Regions from separate parts of the Homo sapiens genome. Here region 2 is linked to region 1. The links are contacts of gene promoters, found by promoter capture Hi-C in blood cells and fetal thymus (Javierre and others, 2016). All regions are on one chromosome and are shown on one strand. Each heading gives the region's core, a stretch centred on a gene start or on the middle of the fragment in contact. The rest is flanking DNA. Distances are from core to core; before and after follow the strand shown. Region 1 holds the start of IKZF1 (IKAROS family zinc finger 1). Region 2 overlaps GRB10 (growth factor receptor bound protein 10).

The links. Contacts are between HindIII fragments. The CHiCAGO score rates a contact against its expected background, and 5 or more counts as called.
Region 2: a fragment that was not itself captured here is called in contact with the fragment with the promoter of IKZF1 in region 1 in 1 of 17 cell types (neutrophils); the score reaches 5.0 in neutrophils.

Annotation. Positions count from the first base shown.
Region 1 is chr7:50,301,292-50,307,388 of GRCh38, reverse strand. It overlaps IKZF1 (IKAROS family zinc finger 1), which reads right to left and starts at 2,673. Exons shown (of 8, transcript NM_006060.6): 1 at 2,467-2,673. RefSeq lists a silencer at 2,561-3,360 and an enhancer at 4,215-4,716. The HindIII fragment of the contact is 6,071 bases long and covers 1-5,799 here.
Region 2 is chr7:50,666,402-50,672,498 of GRCh38, reverse strand. It overlaps GRB10 (growth factor receptor bound protein 10), which reads left to right. Exons shown (of 19, transcript NM_001350814.2): 7 at 2,636-2,777. Among named protein-coding and RNA genes, the nearest start is that of DDC, 100 kb to the right of the region's middle. RefSeq lists enhancers at 2,258-2,757, 2,758-3,259. The HindIII fragment of the contact is 4,644 bases long and covers 732-5,375 here.

The DNA.
Region 1 (6,097 bases), core at 1,424-3,923:
GGTTTACCTTCTGTAAGCTGGAGTGGAGCCACTTACATCAATCTCCCTTAGAATATGACAAGAACCAACATTTATTTCATAGTGAAATTATTTCACAAGTCCAAAGATTAGAGGAGGAAAAAAAAAATGCCACAAAACAGTGATATCCTTGATGAATTCTTCGTTAACCACAGTTACATTACATTAATACGTACAATTATGCAACACTCAAAAAACGTTATTTATGCCTAAAATTCACCATTATATAACATAGGGAAATCCATCTTGTTTTAGTAAAAGTTTAAAAATAAAGGGGGCCTTTAATACTCATTTCAGGTCTGTTTGATGTTAAAACTCTTCCACACTGCCCCATGCCTCTCACTCCACGCTGTGTGCATGCTGTGTGTGTGCACGCTCTGTGTGCATATGTGCATATGCACATGGAATTTATTTCATGTATCTGTTAATAAATGCATAATCTTGAAGTGTGTGTATAAGTACATTAATATATAGAGAGTTCTTTCCTATTTCAAAATTTTTGACATTTATATTGAAAATATGCTATATTAACCACGCATGAAACACACACATCCAAATCAAGAACAAAAAATGTATCCAAACCAAAGAACCACTGTTCTCAAACTCCAAGTCTCTAGTCAAACAAGGAAGACAGTGGCCTGCAGTACAACAGGGCTTTAGACCTCTTGGCTAATACATTCACTGCGATCTTAGTTTTTCGACAAAGGAAATGGCTACAAACGGCCACAGCTGATCTTCTCTTTAGGAGCCTGTGTAAAACTCTTCGAAAGGGTCAAACCTAACACATCCAGACTTTTATCTGCAGCCCTTGTGGTCTCCTGGAGACCCTGAGGGTGGGTGATTATTGCTATGATGTTTCTGCATTAGGGGGGTGTGTAGTTTTCCAAGAGGTACCACTCTAATTAGAACACTGATGAATTAAACAAGTACTGGAGAGTTTCTAAACTCCTTCCTTCAACTCTCACCGTGAAACAAAAGGGGAAGAAAACATGACCATTTAGTTCAATAAAATGTTCTGGTCACCAGCTCTGATTGACTGTGAGACTTAAGAGTCACGTTTTTTTTCATGTAAAAAATGTATGAAATATGTTCATGGTGAAATTGGAAATCAGATACATTCCATCAAGCAAGAATAGTGTAGTATTTTTAATGTGACATCATTATTTGTATGTGTACACATTATTTCTTTAACTTGTTCTGCATTTTACAAGATGCCAGCGTAAGAAGGTGAATCTTCTTGTCATGAATATTTGCCTCGTGTACATTTTAAGCCATAGCCCAAATGATCTGATTTGTCACGGAAATAATTCTGACACATTCTAATATAAATAATACTGAAATTGTTACTTTTTAAAATTCCATATAAAAGATGAGTACAATAAAACTCATTGAACAAACATCTTCAAACAAAGAAATAAACTCAAGAGGACCCAGGACATTTCTATGTGGGTCCCCCCCACCCCTCGACTCATAACCAAATTGAACCTGGCCTTAAAAGCATTTGAATGTCTATGAAAGTTTAAATATCATACGCAGTATTTTCAAATTCCATAAATTTTCCTCTTTTAACAGAAGTTGATGGGACTAGTAAGGAGACATTTCCTCAACACCATTTTGTCTGGAATTTTAAAACAAGGTATCTCAAAGCTGAAATATACTGCCTGCGGCGCAGTGGGAAATTGTGAGTGGGTAACCTAAGCAAAGCGCACCGCATTGAAATTCAGTCTGGGTGGGCTGCAGTCCCTAGAGAGAGGGAAGCTGCATTTGAAAGCTGTGCCTGGTCAGACCCTATGGAATCGCTACGGTTTTCGGTCATTAGATGCCTCCAAATTAGAAGGAAAAACAAGCCCTCACGAGGTTCCTTAGGCATCAGCAGCGATGCTTGACAAATATTTAAAATACATTTCAAATATAACCGCAAGTAACCTGATGCCTTAATATTACTAAGGGTTTTCCTGAGAAGGTTTGGTGACTTGAGCGTCAAACCTGCGGTCAGCAAAAGGACTAACTTTTCAAAGCCGGGATAATTCCTCTCTTGCAGAAATTAAGTTCAGACTCGATCTCATCATATTTATAGTATAAAAAGAAAGCTCCCGGCTCAAATATAAGGAAAACTCTTTACACACGACTTTATAAAGGCTGACTTCCGTGGGTATATGTAGGTCTACATAAATTTAAATATGGTTGGGAGCTAGAACTCCTCTCCTGGTGACAGCGGGGCTGCTCAGAAGTGTCCCATGTCGGCCTGGTCCTGCACCTGCTGGCACAGTGCAGAGCAACAGACGCTTGACAGAAGTGAACTCTCTCACTGTCCTCAGAAAAGAGAGGCGGACCTGAGCGACACCAGGGTCTACCAACCTTACCGCTTTTCTTTACTGTGTTTTTTTTTTTTTAAATTCACCAGTTACCCCAAGTTTTCCTATTGAAATTCAATTTGAAAACACTCACGTGGATTTGTGCGTCGCGCTTTGGGGCCAAGACTGATCCTCGGGTGCGAAGAGCAACCTCGGAGCCGGGGCTCCCTCTGCCCTGCCAGGCTTGCCCGCCTCGCCGCGGCCGAGCGTCCCGCCCAGGCTGGGATGCGCCGCGCGGGGACCCAGGGGGCTTGCCGCAGTCACCGCCCCGGGCGCGGGCCGCGCAGTCACTTGTTAGAGTGTCCTGCTAACTTGGCCGCGGAGCTCTTCCCAGCTTTCTTTCACAATGACTTCCTGAAGTTGCTCACTCGCATTGTTCCCCATTTCTCCGCCACACTCCCCGCCCCCAGCCGGCTCAGACCAGGCTTTCGCGCTCCCGGCCGACCGGCTGCCCCGCGCGCACAGCGCCGCCCGCGGGCCCCGTACCTGGCCCCCTCCGCGCCGGCCGCCCCCGCCGCGCCCTTGCGTTGCCACCAGCTGCCGCCCAGAGCGGCGGGTGGCCAGAGCGCGCGCCCTGCCACCCCGCAAACTTTGGGGTGACGCACGCTGGCGGTCCCTGCTCGACCTGCCCCGCAGCCGGCTCGGCCCCGCGCGCACCTCTCGGCCGCCTCCCGGATCGCTGCTCCGGTACAGGGAGCGGGGCGCGCAGAAGGGCGCAGAGCGGGACACGGAGAGGGTGCGTCGTCCCGTCCCCGCCCCGTCGCCGAGTCCCCCGGCTCGCGCGGCGCGCGTCTCAGCCGCAACTCCGGGCCAGAGGGGCCGCGCACGAAAACTTTGCAATCGCGCCGGGCTCCGGCTCAGCCCCCAAAGGCCGCCGGGGCGGCGGCGGGTGCGGGCCGTACCTGCTGGCGCCGCCGCCGGCTGCAGCCCGCTCGCCCGCGCCGGGCCCGCTCGGCGCGCCGCCGCCACCCCCGCGCGCACCGCGCCCGGGCCCTCCCCTCGCCGCCGCGCTTCCTCATTCCAGCGCAGCATCGCGCCGCGGCCCCGCACGGGATGCGGCGGCCGGCGCTGTGTCCGCGGGCCGGGCAGCCCGGCTCGGCCGCGGCGCTGCGGGACCCGCGCGTAACCCGTGGGGGCGCGGCGCGGGCGACACGTGCGGGCCGCCAGGAGGGGGAGGGGGACGCGCGCCGCCGGGCCCGCCACCCTGCACCCGGGGCCGCTGGTCGGTCGGGGCACCCTCACGCTCGCCCCGCTGGCGAGACTGGAGGGACTCGGGACATCGTAAAGCACTTTCCCCAGTGTCTGGGAGCGCCCGCTGTACGCTCAGCTTCACGTCCCTGGAACTGGGGCCCCTTGGCTCCCGGGTTCAGGCTCCGGCCCCAGGATGCGAGTGCCCACCCGAGGGGGTGGGAAAAGTTGATCCTCCGCAAGGGAGGGGAAGGTGCAATTCATTTTCCCAGACAACCAATGGAATACCTCTCGTCTCTCTTCCCTCCCACCTGCTCACGGCAGAAGTTAGGATGGCGCCTTCCATGTTGGCCTGGGTGCACACACAAGTGCGTGCGGAAGGGTGGCTGCAGGCGGAGGTGACAGCGAAGCAATCCCGCAGCCCGCTCGACGGCTCTTTGCGTCTCAGACCTCTCCCTGGCGTGTAAGACACCGTGTGTCTCCGTAAAACGGGAATGCCACATCTGACAGCGCACCCCTTCGCCCTACGGGGAGCCCCTCACTCTAATTAGCCGGGCTCCACCCGAGCAGGAGCCAGCAATGTGTTCAGCTTGAGCAGGAGAGAAAAAGTCATGAATTCCACAAATGCAGCCTGGGCTCCCGCCAGGCGCTAGGGGAGGGGACCCAGAGGAGTGAGATGCGCCTCCTGCCCTTCCAGACTTGTAGGAGCCACCAGGAAGGCACAGAATAAAAATCCCGGGCACCCCTGTGAGGAGGAGCGCCCTGTGAAGAGGGCCGAGAACGTGCTCCTGCTTGGGCGCGGTGGTTCGGGAAGGCGTGAAGACCCATAGGGAGAGCGATGAAAGACCAAGGGAGCCTCCTCAGGGTAGGACATGCAGGCGAAGAAGGCACAGGCCTTCCGGGTGGAGGACACAGCCGGGCAAGGGAATAAGCAGGAAATGTCCCTTCAGGGCAGTTGAGTGTGGCTGGAGACCATCGCTGCCGGGGAAGGTCTTGGCCTGGCCCAGGAGGCCTCCAAGTCGGGGGCCAGGGCACACCAGAGACAGGATCTGCCTCTGCTGCCTCTGGGAGAAGGCCCTTTACCCGTGAATCACAAACAGCGTCTATCCACATTCTCCCTGAGCGCATATGCAGCTCTTACTACAGTACTCAGTGTGTCCTGAAGGGCATTCCGCTGGGCAAGTCTGAGCCAGTTAACTCACTGCTACAGCCCAGAGAAGGGGAAGGTAGTGAAAGGTCCATTGATTTACCTTCTAGTCCTCTCCTCCACTGCGTGACCTTGGGCAGGTTATCCAAACTCCTGAGCATCATCTTCCTTGTCTATAAAAAGAATACATGCCACCAATCCTAAAGACTCCTTACCTGGATTAAATGAGGCAATAAACATAAGGTACAAGGCCCAGAGGGAGGCCAACAATGTTGTAAAGGGGACACGGGACACCTCTAGTTCTTGGATGCAGAAGTACCTTTAGCCGCTGGTACGTCTCTCTAAACCTGTGCCTTGGTCTTCAGGAGTGGACCAGTGGACCGAAACATAGGCATCTCACCAAGGTGTAGCCCACTGAGGCAGGAGCATGTGGGGCTAAGAGCCCAGATAGTTTGGGCTTATGAATCTGACTGAGGTCCTTAATCTCTCAAAGCCTGAATTTCCCCATCTGTAAATTGGTGGTGATAATATAACCCTCCTGGTGGGGTTGTTTGTGGGTTAAGGAGATCACATATGGAAGACCTTGCCACATGCCTGACAGAGAGGAGTACTTTCCAAGTAAGAACAGTTATTCCCTGCTAGCCCAACCAATGTCCCAATGAGATGAGGAGTGCACTGTGAAGAGTCAGGCTCCTTGGCTGGGTGCAGTGACTCACACCTGAGTTTGGAGCCCAAGGTGGGAAGATCACTTCAAGCCAAGAGTTCCAGACCAGCCTGGGCAACAAAGCAAGACCCTGTTTGTACAAAAAAATTTTAAACTTTAAAAATCAAACCCCATTTGTATTAAAAATTTAAAAATTAGGTGTTATGGTATGCACCTGCAGTCCCAACAACCTACTTAGGAGGCTGAGGCAGGAGGATCCCTTGAGCCCAGAAGTTTGAGGCTGCAGTGAGCCATGATTGACACCACTGCACTCCAGCTTGGGCGACACAGCAAGACCCTGTCACAAAACAAAACAAAACAGCAGTCAGGCTGCAGGTACCATGCCTTACCCTTGCCCCCAACCGGGTGGAGTTGAAGGAAGTCAAGCTTATATTATTATAACCTGGGGTCTGTGGATAGACTCAGAGGGACCAGAGAGGTGATATAAATCAAATGTTCAAACCCTTAGGGACAACAGTAAAATGCACAATGGATGGGAAAACATATAGGGAGAAATTGGAACATGTAAAACTGTTTTTTTTCATATTATGTCTAAAGTCATTTTATTTTATTTACATATTAATTCATATATTGCCCTCTTCATAATGTTAAAGTATTAAATAAAACACTTTAATTTATTCAGGCAATAATTGCTAAATCACCAATTTTTCTTCTTATGAGGCTGTA
Region 2 (6,097 bases), core at 1,804-4,303, 360 kb before region 1:
TTCTTACTTTCAGGTGGATTAAAAAAAAATGTGGAGATCAATCTGGAATCACCAAAGATTATTTTGTGAAGTGAGGCCATTTGCTGAGTGCTTACTGTGTGCAGATGCTGATGAGCTCCTCCTTGTTATCAGTGCCCTCGGAGGGAGGCAGTGTGGGTTACCCTCGCTTCCCAGCTGAGGAAACCGTGGCACAGCGGGGCGGTAACTGGGCTCACCACATCAGGTGGGAAGTGGCCATGGAGCAGGCTGCTGGGTACCAGAGGTCACGGAGCATGGTCCACGCTGCAGAGGAACTTACCGGGGGCTGCCATGCAACCCGAAGGGAGCTGGGGGGCAGGCAGGGTATGGGCAGAGGAGACACTTGGGAAGGGCAAGAAGGCTTTGCACATAGGAAAGCCGATGGGTGAGCCGATTCTGTACAGAGAAGGAACCCAGGCTTTTGAGAGTGCAAGGGCCACGCATGTGTTCTAGACAAACACAAGTGAGCCAAGGCACAGAGAAGAAGGACCTCGCCCCTCAGCTCTGCAGTTCCTGCCACCATCCCTGACATCCCTAAATCTCAGCACCCCTCTCCATAGTCACTGTCCCTTCTATTGTGAGCCTCTTTGGTGGGGATTTTTTGTCTTTGTGTGATATCCCTTAGTCTTGCCTTAGGCGATGTCTCTGAGCCGCTTTAAAGTCAACACAGGACTTTTTAAAATGCTCAAAACAACCCAATAAATAGAGAAGCTTTTGTGGACACTAAAACGTCAGATTATCTTTTTGGGGTGAAGTCACTGGCTAGAAGCCGTGGATGGGAAAGTGGCACTGGCCACCCGTTTTATCCATCTCCTCCTGTATGACAATGGCCAGACGTTTCAGTTGGACGCCTTGCCAAGGCTGAAGCTGTTATGGGAAGAGTGGGATTTGTTCACAGTAAAAATAAACTTTATGGCATGTCATCAAACCATTATAGGAACGGCTTTCCTGTATTTCGCAGCACTGATTCCCTTCATGCCATGTGAGTTCTCGTAATTTTAAATCCATGCATCATTTGCTGGTCTACGTGGGATAGTTAGCTGGATCTTCCTTTAAAAAATAGGGAAAGTTGGTAAAAGAGAAAAAGTAATACAGTCACAAAATGTGTTTCTGTAGTGGCAAATCTCCTGGGAAAGCTAACGGATTGTTGATTTTGTGAAATCGTAAAAATTGTCAAAAAAATTACTTGAGGACACAGCCTATGATGGGGGTTTCTGAGGTATGTTTAAACATGGGGAGGGATTGGAAATGCCGAGTGAAGATAATGTGAGGTTTGCTCCCCTCTCCTTGAAGGTAGGAGGCTGCAGACAGGGCCGCGTGGCCTCAGGAAGGGTGGAGGAGGCTGTGTGTCCAGGAGTGCCCTGGAGGTGTGGGCCAGAAGTTACTCTACAGAGGGGAGGTGCCAGACACTTGACATTCGCTTTGACTTTGAACTTGATTTCTCTGCTGTTCACAGTTGCTTCTGATTCGTCATACTGTGTGTGTGTTGCATAGTTGTGTGACAAGTGGGTTGTGCATTTTTCGGAGGAGGGAACAGATGCCCCTGGAGATGTGCCAGGAAAGTAGAGGTGGTGTGTGGATTCAGCGTGTGTTTCCAAGGTGTGTTTCTAATGTGGACACAGGCTTTGCGAGGACAGATACATGAAGCTATAATTTCCAGTTAATTCAGTGTCAACAACCTTTTTATATAAGTAACCATCCATTGCATAATTCAGATGAGAACACACAGCCTTTTCTTGTATTTTCATTTGATTAGATTAATGCTCATTTCAAGGACATTGAAAAACACTTGGTTCTCATGAAAATGCTCATATTCAGAAAACTTTCACACATCAGGTATTCACTGATCAAACGGATGAGGTATTTGGAGCTGATGCCATGTCAGGCACTGAATGCTGCCTGAGATGAGCACGCACCCAGGACAACAAAACTTCGGCACCCCGCCCCCCGCCCCCGATGCCTAATGAAGAAGAGAATTGATACCCAATACCCTTTGGGTCTGAGAATGACAACTTGTAATTTTTTTAAAGTTTTCGTTTTAGTAAAATACATGTAACATAAAATTTACCATATTAACTGTTTTTTTCAGGGTACAGTTCGGTAGTATTAATGCACACTCACAATGGTTGTACAATCTCCAGAACTTTCTCATCTTATGAAACTGAAACTCTGTCCCCAATAAACAGCGATTCCCCATTGCCCTCCCCTTAGTCCCCTGGCAGCCACCCTTCTATTTTCTATGGGTTTGAATACACTACCTACCTCACTGGGTGAAATCACACAGTGTCTCTGGTTTTGTGACTGGTGTGTTTGACTCTGCATAATGTCTTCAGGGTTCATCCGTGTCGTAGCCTGTGTCAGAATGTGCTTCCTTTTTCATGGCTGAGTAGTGTTCCATGGTATGGATATGCCACATATTGTTCATCCATTCATCCATCTGCAGACCCTTGGGATGCCTCTACTTTTTGGCTTTTGTGAAGGATGCCACTGTGAACGTGGGCATGCCAGTGACTCCTAGAAGCCCTGTGTCCTGCTTTCTGGGTGTATCACCACAGTGGTAAGGCTGGGTCATGTGGGGAATGGCAGCTTTTAACAGGCACTTATCCCTGCCTTCCAGGCGCCTTCAGGAGGAAGACCAGCAGTTTAGAACCTCATCTCTGCCGGCCATCCCCAATCCTTTTCCTGAACTCTGTGGCCCTGGGAGCCCCCCTGTGCTCACGCCGGGTTCTTTACCTCCGAGCCAGGCCGCCGCAAAGCAGGTGAGTGTGCCCCTGGCTGGAGCCCAGGCTGAGGGATATGCCAGATTATTGGGATCTGCACAGATGTGCCAGATTATTACTTTGGGAAGAAGGGCGGGAAGTCCTGGGATCTTCTCTCTCAGTTCTTTTCTTGTTGTCACAGTACTTGTTGTCCTATGAGGCCGATACAGTTTGGATGTTGTCCCCTCCAAATCCCATGTGGAATTGTAATCCCCAATTTTGGAGGCAGGGCCTGGTGGGAGGTGATTGGATCTTAGGGGTAGATTCCTCATGGCTTGGTGCTGTCCTCACAATAGTAAGTTCTCACGAGATCTGGTTGTTTAAAAGTGCGTGTCATCTCCTCCCCTTGCTCCCACTCCTGCTGTGCGAGACGCCAGTTCCTGCTTTGCCTTCTGGCATGATTGTAAGCTCCTAAGTCCTCATCAGAAGCCGAGCACATGCCCGCACCATGATTCTTGTACAGGCTGCAGAACCATGAACCAATTAAACCTCTTTTCATTATTGATCAAAACTCTGTTTTATCTTTATATTTTAGAAAAAGTCTCATAAAAAATGGCAAATAATAACAATGATTTGATGTTTAAAGATGAATCTTAGTTCTTTGAAAAAGTTTCACCACTGGCTCAATAATAGGTGTGAAAATGCTGGGCTCACCCGGGCACCTGGATGTCAGTACACAGGAGTTGAAGAGTTTCTGTCTTGTAGTCCTGACTTTGAATATGATCTGCCGAAAGCAGAAGAGTTTCCATTGGACCCGCAGGGCAATAACCTCCTTTTTGAACTTGTAGTTTCTACTTAAAGTAGATCCATGAAGTAGATAGGACACAACCATTGTCCCCATATGAGGAAACTGAGGCACAGAGCATTTCAGTAATGTGTCCAAGGTCAAACAGCCAACAAGTCAGCTTAGCAGAGAAACTGGCAGAGAAAGGGGTTGAAAGTTCCTCCCCACCGGTTGGCAGGGCTGTGAGCCAGGATGGGCTGCAGCCTCTGGAGGAAGACCCCTAGGGGTGGAGGTGATCATTAGAACAACTGCGCCATCTGATGTTTATGGAGTGAGGGATTTCTGTGTGCCAGGCCTTGTCGTAAGTGGTGGATATGTTTATTTTTTGTTTATTTATATGTTCATTTACTCCTCATGCCATCCCGTATGAATTAAGTACGCATGTTCCCTCTGTTCCACAGTTGAGGGAAGGGAGGCCCCTGTAAGCAGCTGAGCTGAGTGTGGCTGAGACCTGATGGTGCGGCTGAGTGTGACCCGGCCTCAGAATCGGAGCCTGTGATTGCAGCCACTGTGCTGATTGGCTTCCCGGGACTTTGACTTTCCTTCTGCTAAATGCATATTTAGAAGTCATTTTGCCCTTCTACTTGAATCATCTCTTCTCCCTACTTGCTCTCACTTCCCTACCTTTGCTGTTCTCAAGCAAGACAGGCCAGCCATCCCTTTCTCTGCAAATCTGCCTGTCCTGTGCCATGCAAGGTCTGTCCTCTTGAGAGAGAGACCTTTTTCCAATACCCGCTGGCTCCCAAGTGTGGGTCCCGTTCTGACCTCAGGCCCCCGGAGCAGGCTGCATTATGGCACTATCAAAACTTAGAAGGTGAGGTAAGTGTCCCTCATCTGGGAGCCAGCACTGGCTGGGCTTGTGCACTTTGTCACATGTCTAAAGTGCATCTGGGATGTCTACCTCGCTGGTGACCTTCTGCTTCAAATAAGGATCCAGACAAGCTGTCTGTGGGTTTTGTCACTGAGGTTGTTTACAGAGCTACCCATTCTAAAATAAGACCATGAAAATATTATCTGGCTCTCTCAGCCTTTGGCAAGAAAATTGGCCTCCACCCCCAGGGATTGTCCAAATTTGTAAGCAGAACAAGGAAACCGGGGAATTTTGCCTGCTGGTGTTTTTCTTGGGATCAGAGCTTGTTCCCCATGAGAACGTGGCATTGGTGTCTGTGTCACTCGTGTCCTCAAGCCCACAGAAACGACCAGGAAGGATGTTTCTCACTCAGAACTAGAACTACTTGTAGAAAGTCCTTGTTCTTTGTTCTTTTTTTTTTTTTCCCGACTTGCTTGAAGGGATATTTCTTTATCTGTACTTGGTGTTGACTTCTGATCTCATGAAAAGTGTGTTTTCTCAGTGCAGTCGGTAGCAAGTGCTGGACAACCTCCAGCCACTTCCCAGGGCTTTGGATCTAGGATCACGGTGGGGGATGGTGCTGGGCAAAGAGCTTTGGCTCCATTCCTTGCCCCTTGCTTGAGGAAAAGAGAAATCTGATGTTCTTCTTCCCTTCATTCAAGTCAGAGGAAGTAATGCTGAGACCAAGGTCTAGTCAAGGATTCTGAAGTAGTAGAAAAATTGACAAAGTGGACCCGATACATAAAGTGGCTTTGCTCACAGGGAAGAACTCAGTTAACGTAGGAAAAGAAGAAAGCATAACGAAATCTATGGAAGGTAATGGGATAGTGAGGTGATTGGAAACTTCCTCATTCATGTCATTATGTTCACTATTAAATAGCAGATTCATGAAGAAGGCAACGGGAGGAAAAAGTAGAGATATTTAAACTTCCATGAGAAAGGAAAAATCATTCTTGCCCAAGCTTTGTAGGCAAAGCCTTCTGAAATTCCCACACAGGCATTAGTACCTTTCTTCTGCCTCTCTCCTTTTTTTTTTTTTTTTTTTGAGACAGAGTCTCGCTCTGTCGCCCAGGCTGCTGGAGTGCAGTGGCGCAATCTCGGCTCACTGCAAGCTCTGCCTCCTGGGTTCACGCCAGTCTCCTGCCTCAGCCTCCTGAGTAGCTGGGACTACAGGCGCCCGCCACCACGCCCGGCTAATTTTTTGTATTTTTAGTAGAGACGGGGTTTCACCGTGTTAGCCAGGATGGTCTCGATCTCCTGTCCTTGTGATCCGCCCACCTCGGCCTCCCAAAGTGCTGGGATTACAGATGTGAGCCACTGCGCCTGGCCCTGCCTCTCTCCTTTTTAAGTGACTCCTTGGTAGCTCCGTAATGTGATAAGAGATCAGATGCTGGTGTCCAGAGACCCCAGGTCTGAGAGCAAGCAACTACCATGATGTGGACCTGGCGCTCCTCACAGCATGCTGAGCCCCCTGGCCCGCGTGCTGGGACAGGGTGGGAGAGTGGCAGTGGTCTCACTGCAGCATTTGTGGGCCCTCACGGATCTGAGTTCCACCTGCAGCTCTGGTGTGTCTCCTTTCTAGACATGTAAGATACAAGCTCAGTGCCCTGTAAAGGCTACGGGCCAATGGGACTTGATGAAAGGAAGGAGGGGAGGGAAAATTCTGCATGGGAGTAGTCATGGGTA